2 separate regions of the Homo sapiens genome follow, and region 2 is linked to region 1. Evidence: promoter capture Hi-C in 16 types of primary human blood cells and fetal thymus (Javierre and others, 2016). All regions are on one chromosome and are shown on one strand. The core of a region is centred on a gene start or on the middle of the fragment in contact, and the rest is flanking DNA. Distances in the headings are between cores, read along the strand shown. Region 1 holds the start of HOXD1 (homeobox D1). Region 2 overlaps LOC105373760 (a long non-coding RNA gene).

Region 1 (6,545 bases), core at 2,793-5,292:
AGTGCTAGTACTAGCTTCAGAAGGAAAAGCTTTATTTTCTCAGAGAAAAGGGTGGTAGATTAAGGAAATGACCCAGCATGTTGGTATTTTGTTGTTGTTGTTGTTTAGGTGTACATTTAAATGCTTATCAAAAAGGAAACATTGTCATGTCAAAGACCACTGCAGGGGAAGCCCAGAGGTGGCTGTAAGCAAGCAGATCACAAGTCCTTTAACAAGTTCTTTCAAATAGCAGTAGAGCTCAGAGGGGGGCTGTTGTTTCAAACAAGATTCAATTAGCATCAAGTTATTAAAGGGCAGCCGGGGAAACAAGAATAATATTGACAGACCTGCTTTTTAAGCAGTATCTTTTCCCTCTAATCAGCTGAGTTTGTTGGAGCTGATCATTTTATTTCTTCAACTCCATTCAACTATAGGTGCAAAGAATGAGAACTTCAGTGTAACTCCAATTTTCTAAGAGAACTAATCATATTGCTGCTTTATAAAAAAGGTAATCTTTCACAGTTGCTTAGATTTATGAATAATTAGATTTAAAGCATTATACTGGAATCTAGAAATCTAGCTAAAAGAGCTGAGGTTCTTATCTGAATTATTTGGGCCGTTAGCCCTTCTGTTGAACTATAGAAAGAACTTAAAGATATAGTTGTAAAATAAGGACGTACTCCCCAAAACTGTCCCAAGTATCCACTTGATTCTGTATCTTTATATTGCATCTTTTTCTCATATTTCTGCAAGTTTACATAAACTCTGGTCAACTATGAATGCCTCCCGGGATGAGAAATGGGAGTTTGGGTGAAATAGATTAGAGAATAGGTTTTGGGGTTTTTTTTAACCACATACTCTCTTGTCAACTTTCAAGTTTTGTGCTTGTACCTCTTCCAAAGTATTCATTTGAAAATATTTCATTTTTGAAATCAGAAAGGCACTGTCTGTGCTCTCTCTCCGCCAGATACTCAGTCTGGGTTACAGGAAGTAGAAATTTGTGACTACTAGCCTTTCCCAGCCTCCTTTGTAACTCTTGACTTTGGAAATGGGAATTCAGCCACTGAGAACTTTTTGATGTGCAGCTGCCTTTCTCAGGGAACACTAACCAAGAAACAAAGTCTTCAGGTCACCTTTCCTCTTCCTTTTGTGAGGACAGGAGACAAAAGAACAAGATCTCCCTGAAGTGTCTCCTTGGCTTTACAACATTCCACAGTAGGCACCTAACACTTGAGTTAAATGTGCAGACTACACACCTACCATAAAATTAGGGCACTCAAGGTAAGGAAAGTATTTCCATAGTTACTTGGATATTTGGCAGAGTAGTTTTCTCTCTTAAACTACTAATTGCCCATAACTTGCTGGGTGTGTACACAACCTGTAGGAAGTATTATTTTTAAAAGTTATCGGCTGGGCGTGGTGGCTCACGTTTGTAATTCTAGCACTTTGTGAGGCCGAGGTGGGCGGATCACCTGAGGTCAGGAGTTCGAGTCCAACCTGGCCAACATGGTGAAACCCCGTCTCTACTAAAAAAAATACAAAAAATTAGCTGGGCATGGTGGCTCATGCCTGTAATCCCAGCTACTGGGGATGGTGAGGCAGGAGAATCACTTGAACCTGGGAGGCAGAGGTTGTGGTGAGCCAGAATTGTGCCACTGCACTCCAGCCTGGGCAACAGAGCAAGACTCCGTGTCAAAAAAAAAAAAAAGTTATCAACATAAACAAATTCTCATAGCAGAATCAAGAAAATTCAAATACAGGAAACTGAATCAACTTTAAAGAAAGAGAATCATTATTAAAGAGTGTAAGAAAAGCAGAGAGCAGCAGATTCTATAATTTTTATTACAAAAAAAACCCTTTACATGCTATGACATTAAATGTCACTTATAAGGTCATTGCAAGCAAATCTTTTTAAAAAATATACATACTGTATATATTTACATTCAAGTTTGAATAATATTTGTCAAGATATAGTTCAGATTCTACTCTTTACCCATTCTGTGGATTTGTTCATCTAGTAACTAAACAGCGATTGTATCATCACTCAGGCACATAGAGAGGTAGAAACCGCTTTTTTAAAGAAAAAAAAACTGGAGTGCAAATGTGAAGATCACTGAAGCAGCTTAGCTACATCAAGGAGACCCTAACTAGCTTTGGTCATCTCAAAAAGCTGAATATATGTAGCCTTGTCCTTTAAATTAAAACCAGAAAAACTTTGGGCAGGTGCTCTTCTGAGCACATCAGAGTGCTGACAGAACTCAGCAACTAATGGTCTGCCACTCTGCAACGCGAATTGCACATGACTAAGTGAGGCAAAGATAGCAGCGGAGCTGGGCTGGCAGCTGGGCACCTTTTCCCTGATAAGACACAAATCATAACCAAACAAGTGGCTTACAAGACAGTCAATTAATATCTGGACATATAGTCTGGAACTCGGAAGCCAACTAAAGTACTTCATTTCCCAAGTGAAATCCCTATTCATTTTTGTTCTCCCACCTCCATCCCAAACTGAGCTCCTAAGTCTAGATAGGGATGGGGGTCGCCTGGGACTTCTGCAGGCCACAGTTTTTCGGCCCCAAGTACCGGCCTCACGAAGGCTCTTGGGACTGAGAAGGGCTGCCGGGGTTCTTGATAAACTTAGTGGGGGTTGTTCCAGAGAGGGGAAGTTGGAGGGGAGCCACAGGAATGGCCGTGGCCAGAAGCCCTTCTCGTTCCCTTTTCTTCTGTTTCATCCTGCGGTTCTGGAACCAGATTTTGACTTGCGTGTCATTCAGGTGCAAGCAGTTGGCTATCTCGATGCGCCGGGCTCGAGTTAAGTACTTATTGAAATGAAACTCTTTTTCCAGTTCTGTCAGTTGCTTGGTGCTGAAATTCGTGCGGATCGCGCTGGAGGGGCTAGCGGCCCCATACTCGGCGAGTTTGCCTGCAACGTAAAGACAGGGCGTCAGCCAGGCCTGAGGCCGGGGACAGAATGTGGGTGAGCAGTGGAGCTAGTTAGAATCAAAGTCCCAGCGCAGCCCTCCTGGGTCCCTAGGAACAGAATTTGTACCAGGAGAAGTTCCACGGAGAGCTCCTTCCTGAAATTTTCTCAATGCCTGGCACATTTTCCGAATCTGTACTCGAGGCAGACTCCATGGAATTCGCCCGGGAACGCGTCTCCTCCACAAAACCCAAACCGCTGTCTGGAAAGGCAGCGACACCACGCTCCCAGCGCATTTCCGCGGGGGAGGCTCCGTCCCCAACCCCAGGTGGCCCCATCCAAGGCCCGCGGACTTACCTTTCTTAGAGGCATTCCTCTTCACTTTCATCCACTCGAACGTGCTGAAGGCGGCAGGGAGGCCGGAGGCGGGAGAGACGGACTTGGGGTAGGTGCCTGGGGCCGGGGATGCGGTCTGGAAAGCACCAGGGTGGCCGTCGGCTGACGCTTTGAGACAAGCCGGAAAAGGGCCGGGTTCGCCGAAGGCCGCGTAATCCACCTGGCCGCTGAGGAGGAAAGAGCCGCCGCCCGAGAAGACGGCCGAGGTGGCGTAGTGGACGTGAGACCCGCCGTCGTCGGCCGCCCGCCCCAGCACGCCCGGGAAGTCGTACGCCGGCCCGGACCCCAGGAAGCCGTAGTCCGCGCCCCCAGCTGCCGCGGCAGGTGCGGCACCAGGTTCGTAGGCCCCCTCCAGGGTGCACTGCGCGTACTGGGGCGCGGCCGGAGGCGGTACGGACGGCCGCGCGGGGGCGGCCGGGGGCGAAGGCGAGGGTCGGGCGGCGGCCAGGGGCAGACAGCTGACGAAGGCGCCGTCGCCGTTGCCCAGAGGGAAGGCGGGCTGCAGAGCCACGGGCCGGGCGTCGGAGCGGCAGAACTTGGGTGCCAAGCTGAGCACGTCGCCGCCGACCCCGCCGCTGCTGCTGCATGACACGTACTCCAGGTAGGAGCTCATGGTTCGGGCCCCACCTTTCTGAGGGCGCAGGCCGGGGCCGGAGTACGGAGCCGGGCAGAGGCTGAGCAGGACTGCCGCCGTCTGCGCCGCTCCGCCAGCCCTCTCTACCCGAGCTGCCCTCTCCAACCCATGGCGAGTGAGCCGGAGGTAAATAGTGGCCTAATATACCGGCGGGGGCGGCCACGTGGCGCTGGCCGGCCAATGGGCGGCCTCTCCGCTCGGCCCGGTCGGCGCGCCGCTCCTCGCGCCTGCCCCGCAGCCAAGTTAGCCAAAGCAGCCCAGGGCCGCCGCCCAGCGCCCCCGAGCCCCGAGGAGAGCCGTCGCGACCGGGGGCTGCCTGGGCAAGGGCGGGGCGAGAGGGCAGAACGCCTGCTCTCGGACAGGTATTGGGCGAGGTGGGGGGAGAAAGGCAGGACTGGACGCTTGGGTGAGGGCCCGTGGATGCAGCGGGGCGAGCCGCTTCTGCTCTGGATCGTGGGGGGGGCTAGTCCCTCGAGGGCGGAGTGTGGGCGTCGCGGCATGGAAAAGGTTAAATGGGAGCGTGACGCGCGGCCGGTGGAGACTGCTCTTCGCCCACCTCCAGGACAGATAAAGTTATTCCTCTTCCCCTCTTCTGAGTCCTCTGCGCTTTCGGTTTGCTTGGCGCTGATGTTATCCCTCTTCTAAACCTAGAGCAGATGTTTGGTTTTTTCCTTTCTTCCCCCTTTCCTAGGACTCATGGAACTACATCTTATGCTGTGAGTGCTGTGTGCCTAGGGCGGGACAAAATTTTCACTTTTTGACTAGGCTTCCTTTTAACGTGACTTTGCAGCTTTCTTCTATCCCTCGCAATTTGTGGCGGCGTGATGAGGGCCAGTGTTGTAGTGCCAGATTTTGATAAAGTTTCTGCCTTGTGGGGTGGTTTAGCAGATTTTCCCCTCCGGCTGGGTTGTTGGAATAAAGAATCCAGAGTGGTGGTGGAACACTCCTTATGCTCCTTTCTGGGAGACTGGCACAGGCACCGGTGCGGCGCTTGCTTTCACTGAGGAGCTTGTCTGGAGGGCGCAAGGGCTTACCGGGGACGGGTGAGATCTCAGAGGTTTAGATGGACTTGTACCTCGAAGCAATTAGAGCTTCTGCTCCATCAGATAAGTGCTGCATCGTCTCTTGTGAGTGAAATCTGAGGGCTCACAATGTTAATGGGCTCACGTCTTTCCCTTGATAATATGGTTTTGTTTACTGAGTGTAGAGAGACGGGAAATAAAAGTGCAATTGCCACAGGAAATGAAGAGTAGAAAGGTTACAAAGACCAGCTTTACATTGACAAACTTTCCAACTTCCTTTAGTATTTCTTTTAATGTTCCCTTTTGAGGGGACTGTAGGAAAATTACAAATTAGATAAATAGAGGTTATTTACACACAGTAGTTATGAAAGAGGGTGGTTTCCTAAAACCCTGTGTGAATAAAGACTCTAAAGAGTCTACTCAGAGCTTATATCAAGTGCCCTTGAAAAGTTAATCTATTACAGCCTCTAAGTTATGGTAACCGAGGTTTTATCATTGTTTTACTGATTGACTTGTCATAAAAGAGCGATTGAGCTGTTGTTGCCTAAATTTCCACTCTGAGGAAGTCTTTAGAATAGGCGCCATCACAGCCCAGGGAGCCAGTTCCTTCCAGGGTTGTGGACTTGTGAATAAACAAAGCCCTACCAAAATGTGGACTACTGATGGACCCGAAGTTGCTGCAGGATGGGGGAGGGATGTCCCCAGGTTGAGGGGAGCCAGTAGAGGGTGGATGCCTAGGAATCAGCACAAAGTTAAAGAGGTCTGTGGTTCCTGCACTGCTGGAGTTCTTGAGTTTGATTGGAAATGGAATACCTGTGCTGAAAATAGCCCTTCAATCTTGATTTTGCTATTTCAGTTGTGCTATAGCCAGTCAGATAAGGTCCTAAATAATTTTTATTTATTTATTTATTTAATTTTTTTTTTTAAGTGCAGTGGCGCGATCTCGGCTCACTGCAAGCTCAGCCTCCCCGATTCACGCCATTCTTCTGCCTCGGCCTCCCGAGTAGCTGGTACTACAGGCGCCCACCACTATGCCCGGCTAATTTTTTGTATTTTTAGTAGAGACGGGGTTTCACCGTGTTAGCCAGGATGGTTTCGATCTCCTGACCTCGTGATCCGCCCGCCTCGGCCTCCCAAAGTGCTGGGATTACAGGCGTGAGCCACCGCGCCCGGCCCTAAATAATTTTTAAGAAGAGAAAAATAAAAGTTCTTCCCTAACACCCCAGTTAGGAAATGTTAGAGCTCTTCAGAGCTAGCTCAGCCTTAAAATGTAGACACGTTTCTTCACTGCTCTCCTGTGCCATTTATGCAAAAGTAACAGCAAATAAGATGCTGCTGAGTTCACAATGCCCCCTCCTCCACCTCTGGCTAGATTTTAATAGCCAGTTTTTATCTGCAAGATGTCCCAGCTCTCACAGTGTTCCCTCAAATGATACTTATCCTATCACAACTCCAAAGCCTAGAGGCCCCATGGGTCAAGAAGGAAGGATGACTTTGTAAACCTCTTTGGGGAAGACATCCAGCCGGCTGCAACCCAGGGTTTAGGGCAGAAGAGTCAGCCTGACTGTCCGGCAAGTCTGACCAAAACCCCTCA
Region 2 (6,545 bases), core at 1,636-4,135, 940 kb before region 1:
CTGTTAATTCTACCTTCAAAACATCTCTTGAATCTCACAGGCTTTGTTGATCCTCGCTGTCATCACCCAAGTCCAGCTTCCCACCATCTTGTTCCTGGATCCCCGTAGTCACTTCTGGACTGGTCTGCCTGCTTTCACTTTTGCCACCTGCATTCTATTTGCCACACAGCAACCAGAAGGGTCTTTAAAAAATGCAAATTGGATTACGTTTGAACTCTACTCAAACCCTTCAATGACCTCCCATTGCACTTAGAATTAGTGCTACTAAACCAATGATTTAATTTATAAGAGCAAGTTTTGAAATCAGTGTTTTCTAACCCTTGGGTCAATCTCAGAGCATTTTGCTATGAAATTTTCAAAATTAAAGATTACAATTGCAACACTTAATTGTTTAATTTTCTTCTGTGTTATTAGATATTTTGCTGCTAAAATTAGTTGGAGTTGGGAGGAGGAGCACTGGGGCATAACCGTCAGCAGCTGCAGCTTGGAGAAGCTGGTTCTCTTGTCTTCAAGAAGGCAGATCTCTCCCTAGCCTGCTGAGCCTTCTGTGTTTTGGGGAAGGTTTGTATTCTTTCTTCCTCGGGATTATGGCCCTGAGAAAGTGTCTTCTAGTTCTCATCAGGACCAGGATCGAGGACCAGCCCTGGGTCAAAAACATAGGATGTGGGTGAGCACACAGTGGGGCACTGGGCAGTACGGACTGAGTCACCAGACAGTACCTGAGCCATAGAGGGCTGCTGCTGGGGAGGAAGCAGACAGAGGTGCAATGGAGGTGAATGTGCCACGCTAGAGTCAAGCGCCTTCATCAAGATTTAAGGAGAGGGGGAGTGAAGGACTGGAGTAGAAACCACAGGTACAGACATGGAGAAGGTAAGGCCGTTACAGCCTGAGGAGAACAGCGGAGGTTTTAAACGCCTGGCAGGTCTCAGTGGAACTGCTTCCTCAACTCACAGATTAGCTTCTTTTTACCGACTCAGCTTCCTTTCCTGATAAGCCCAGTTGCCATGTAGACTTTGTCAGAATTTAATGCTCTCTTTAAACCAGTGGGTCTCAATATCATTAGAATCATGTGGGAAGCTTTGTTAAAAAGAAAAAAAAAGATGCCTGGGTTCCACTCACCTAGGTCAACAGAATCAGAATCTCTAGGGAGGTGGAGGTGGCATAGGGTTGGTGGAGTTGGGCCCAGGCATATGTGATTTCTTTAGAAGTTCACCATGTGATTCTGATGCCCAGTGAAGGTCGAGAACCATTGCCTTCAGCACTCTTACTTTGAGTAAACAGGATCATTCCCCGCTTTTGAGATTTAAAATTTTAGAATGCTGCAGCTAGATAATACTTTGTGGCGGTGTTTCTCAAACTTTCATGTGCATGTGAATCACCTGGGGATCCTGTTAAAAAGCAGATTCTGGTTTAGGTGACTGGAAGTGGGGCCTAAGCTGTGGCATTTCTCACTCATGTCCCTGTGACATGGGAGCTGCTGGAGTGAGGACCACCTTGATTGCAGTGGAGCTTTAGATCGAATACAGATGGAATGCTGCCTCTGTGCCAGACCCTGTGCTTAGTGCTGTACATTCAGTGCATTCTCACAGCCTCTGAAAGAGGTACTGTTTATAATTCCATTTTACAGGTACGTAAACTAAGGCCTAGATAAGTTAAGTATCTTGTTCAGGATAATAATGCTGGTAAGTAATAAGAGGCAGAATCTGGATCTAGATGGTCTGATTCCAGAAACTGTGAGCTGAACCACAATGTAATACCACTTCAAAGGCAGGATGGGGCTCAGGGGAGGACCTGCAGTTGGAAGAGGTGTTCAAGGACTTGTACTGAAGCTGTGTTTGTATAACAACAAGGTTTTGTTTTCATTTGAGATAGCCCCTGGAAGAGGCGAATAAAAACAGGTATTACAGAGGAGCTAAAGCACTCTAAGCCACTCCTTGGCCTGTCCCTGTAGGCCATGCCTTCATGTTGCTGGGCAGGAACAGGAGTTCATTGCAAGGTGTATATCGCAATTCAGTGGCAATATATTTCAGGTGTCACTGTATATCTCATAGATAGCCAGGTGGCTTCTGACCTTGTGATGACTTTGTTGTCAGAACTGAGGCCCCTTGGATTGTCATGACCTGGCCCTTGCCTGCTTTTCCCCCTCCTCTTCCACAGCTGCCTCCCTGACTTACCCAATGGCAAGCTCTAGACACATTAACTGCTTTCAGTTCCCTGACGGTATCACAATTTTATACTTCATGAATGTTGTCTTCTCTATTGGATGTCTTTGTTATCCTTTTCTTGCCAGGTTAAATGCTACCTTGTTCAACATCCCGGACAATGTAGTTCTTTCAAAAAGAATTTTCTAACCCTCCCAGCCAGGATTAAGTAATTCCCCTCCTCCTTTGGTCTGTCATAGTCCCCTGTTTCTTTTAATTAGAGCACTTAAGTAATTTACTTTTCTATTTAGTCAGACGGTGAACCTCTCTAGGGCTGTGCTTCATTTATCTTTGCATCCCAGGGCTTAGTATAGTATTCAGTAGGTGGTGAGAAGGCTGACAAGCATGTGTATTGAATGAATGAGTGACCCTTTTATTCCCAGTCCAGTGTTCTTTCCAACTGATGATTTGACTAAACTAGTAGTTTTCAATCCTGACTGTAGGGTTTTTAAAATAATCTGGATCATACCCAAGTCAGCTAAATCACAATCTCTTGGGGGTGAGGCCTAGGCATCTGTGTTTTTAGCAAAGTTCCCCAAGTGATTCTAAGATGTAGCCAGGTTGAGAACCAAGGGATTAACCTTTCAGAGTTACTCTTGCTGTGGTTGGAGCATAATAGTTGAAAGTAACATAGAGGAAAATTGTTGTCTGTCTTCAAAACTGAAAAGGAGAAATAGAAGGAAATATATGGGTAAACTGATCACTTACCTAGGCCTTTTGAAAGTAAATATATAAAACAACAGCATTTTAAGGCTGGGATAAGGAAATGTCATAAAACCCAATAATCAATTACGAAGTATGACACTTCTAAAAAGTTGGGAATCATTTTTCTAAAATTATATTAGTATATCATCCCAATCTGTGCTTTTTTGGCTATTTTTATCCATATATCATTTGCCTTGAGTGCTAGTGAATGATCTTTAAAGGCTTTCAACAAATGACTCACCATTCTCTTACTTTATAATATAGTATGCTAATTGGCAGTCATCTTAGGAGTGTTAAAATATGGCAACAATAACATGAAGTTAATTGTAAAGAAAGGGAGTTGGCTCTTTGTGGCTCTAGATCATTCCAGGTATGAGCAGACTTGTAAATACATCTGTTTATTCATTCTCCATGCAAACATTTGGTACTTATCTTCTCTCGGACAAAGTGCTACATATTGGAGGAAAAAGGGTAATATAAGACACCCTCCCAGAAGTTCTCTGTCTTAAATATGAATAATTAACAGTGCACCATGATATGCACAATGGAGGTCCACTCCAATGAGCACAGGAGGGAAGACGTGTCAGGGAAGGTTCACATGAAGCTCACCTACACGCACATAATATACAGCAGTGGTGTCAGGGCACGGATGACATTTCAGATGGTACTGAAAGGACAGCTCCAGGCACACAGCCCAGGTTGGTGGGATCTTGGCTCATTGCAGCCTTGACCTCCCTAGGCTCAGGTGATCCTCCCACCTCAGCCTCCTGAGGAGCTGGGGCTACAGGTGCCGCACCACGCCTAGCTAATTTGTGATTTTTGGTAGAGAAAGAGTTTCAACATGTTGCCCCGGCTGGTCTCAAACTCCTGGGCTCAAGCAATCTGCCTGCCTCAGCCTCCCAAAGTGCTGGGATTATAGGCATGAGCCATCACGCTCAGCCTGATGTGTTTGTGTTTGATTAAATCCATGGCACAAGATTTAATGTGGCATTACAAATGCTGTAATCTCAGCATTTTGGGAGGCTAGGATGGGAGGCTCAGCATTTTGAGAGGCTGAGATGGGAGGCTCAGCACTTGAGTCCAGGAGTTTGAGATCAGCCTGGACAACATAGCAAAACTCTGTTTCCACCTTAAACAAAAAACAACCATAGCACATCCTAATAGAGTTTTATTGGAGACTCACTCTCAAAAAGAGCCCTAAAAGAATTAAATAATGGTATTTAACTGACAGACACATGAAAAAATCTGGTTTCATATCTCAAAGTAACACTAACAGTTTCTTATGCCAGCAGAGGAAGATCATGTTTTAGAGAGATGGAGGTTTGACCATCTTCAGATAGTGACCTGCCCTTGCAGTACTTCAGAGCTCATCAAAGAGAGGAAGAGAAAAATGGAGTCACAGACTGCCAATTACTGCTTTTGCCTGGAAACAATGCATTTCACTTCCTTTTCTCATTTCATTGGCCAGAAATAATTACATAGCTATGTATAAAATAAGGGGGATGGGGGAATTATAATCTTTGTGTGTCCTGAAGTGGAGAACACTTGAATACGGGGGAATGTTACTAATGTCTACCATAGTCAGTCTCTTCAGCTTCACCCATGTGTGTTGGAAATAGAAGGGTGTGCTCTTCAGACATGAAGAAGAAAAAAATGACTTCATTACTATTGGTTATTATTCTTTTTATATTCTAATATATGTAGGATTGTTGCCAATAAGATTTTTATTTAAGATTGGTAGCAAGACCGGTCTTCATCAATATTAAAACAATTATTTTAAAGCTTTGAAATTAAGTTAAAGGCTATTACTTAAAGCAGCATGAATACGAATTCCAAGTAACAATCAGTATGATGATTGCCTTACTAAAATAACTTCAATTGAATCAATGTGCCCATGTGGAACACCTAGGGATTACAGGAGCAACTTCCATATAGAAGTTACCTCAGTGAGCTGGTTTCAAGCATGAGCCAGCAATGCAAATGCAGGCATATCACTTAAAAAAAAAAAAGAGATGAGGTCTGTCTCTCTCGCCTAGGCTGTAGCACAGTGGCAAAATCACGGCTCACTGCAGCCTAGAACTTGTGGGCTTAAGGGTTCCTCCTGCCTCAGCCTCCCAAGTAGCTGGGACCACAGGTGTGTGCCACCACACCTGGCTAATTAATTTTTTTTTTTTTTTTTTTTTTACAAACAGGGTCTCACCATCTTGCTCAGGCTGGTCTTGAACTCTTGGCCTCAGGTGATCCTCCCACCTTGGCCTCCCAAAGTGCTGGGATTACAGGCATGAGCCACTGTGCCAATGTGCCTGGCCCATTCGAAATACAAGATATATGCATTGTTTTGGTTTTTTAAAATTGCTTTCAAAATCTCTCACACACTACCACTTCTTTCCCCACTGTAGTCAGGAAGGAGGCAAGATTTGGGGAAGAGAAAGGATGGAATCCACTCAGGCTAGTTTTGGTGGAAGTAAAACAGTTTTCTAAGGAAAAAAGGGAACTACACTGTTTCTTTCTTTCCTCCTCCTTGGCTAACGTGTCAAGTGGTTAGGGGACCGTTATTCCCCTCCTTAGCTGGCCCTCTGGAGACTAGCGCTGTCCAATAGACCTTCCTATCCCTGCAATAATGAATATGGTAGCCACTAGGCACAGACGGCTATTGAGTACTGGAAGTGTGGCTACTGCAACTGAGGAACTAAACTCTAATTTTATTGAATTTACTAACTTTAAGTAGCCATGTGAATTCAGGTGATAGGAGAGAGGGAGGTTGTTCTTATTCCTGTTTTCGGTGTAGATTTTTCTGTACATCACAATGATTTTATCTTCCACACAAGATGTTGAAGATGAGCTGAGTCAGTGGGGGATCGGGTGGGAGTGAAGCGTGGACCGAGGCAGAGCCTGCTGCAATGCCTCCCTTCCTAGCCAGTGCAGACCAGGCTCCCTTCATGATCACTGGCGGACAGGACCAAGTGATGCCCAAAGACGGCACAGACACTAAAATGGGGACGATTACATGAATCTCAGACCTGATTTTGTTTTAAAGCCTATGACTTAGGATATGAGAAAAGAAGAAAGAGGCAAATAAACCTAGTGTGGTAACCTTTTAACATAGCATTAGCATCCATTTTTTCATAATATATTTGGATATAAAATCTTTATTGTGCTCAAAATTCTTATTAAAAATGCAGTGAACTGTAGTTTGTACATTTGCAGCCTCTCATTCCTCAAATTGTTCTTTTGTAAGAAATAATTTCTTTGATGGTCATTGTTTAATGAAAGACATGGGCAGTTATAAAAGAAAACTAATGTCATCAAACATTCATCTGGTGACTCCTATGTGCTGGTGCTATGCTAACAATGAATGGCACTTTGCAACACTAATTTTTAGCAAAATAACGACTTCTTAGCTGTAAAGTCCCCATGGGTGTGTGTCCTAGAGGCATATATTCTTTTCTATCTTTGTCTACGGTTCATTTTGGAAAACACCTACTTTTATTACACGATTGTAAAAATTAGTGCTCATATTAAACAATTTAATGAACCGAAGTGCCTCAGTCCTTTCGAAGCCTGACTGGCCTCCTCTAGATCTTTGGGCAGAGGTCAATGTAGAGTGATTTGCTGAAATGCTTGGATTTTATTCTTGAG

The links. Contacts are between HindIII fragments. The CHiCAGO score rates a contact against its expected background, and 5 or more counts as called.
Region 2: a fragment that was not itself captured here is called in contact with the fragment with the promoter of HOXD1 in region 1 in 1 of 17 cell types (total CD4 T cells); the score reaches 5.6 in total CD4 T cells.

What each region holds. Positions count from the first base shown.
Region 1 is chr2:176,186,165-176,192,709 of GRCh38, reverse strand. It overlaps HOXD1 (homeobox D1), which reads right to left and starts at 4,042. Exons shown (of 2, transcript NM_024501.3): 1 at 3,257-4,042; 2 at 1,803-2,902. The coding sequence starts at 3,908. The coding sequence ends at 2,568. HAGLR (HOXD antisense growth-associated long non-coding RNA) reads left to right here and starts at 3,752. Exons shown (of 3, transcript NR_033979.2): 1 at 3,752-3,896. It overlaps MIR7704 (microRNA 7704), which reads right to left and starts at 3,867; the gene lies at 3,809-3,867. RefSeq lists an enhancer at 1-440. The HindIII fragment of the contact is 11,390 bases long and covers 32-6,545 here.
Region 2 is chr2:177,125,078-177,131,622 of GRCh38, reverse strand. The region is part of intron 1 of LOC105373760 (a long non-coding RNA gene); the gene reads left to right. Among named protein-coding and RNA genes, the nearest start is that of MIR4444-1, 84 kb to the left of the region's middle. The HindIII fragment of the contact is 3,611 bases long and covers 1,080-4,690 here.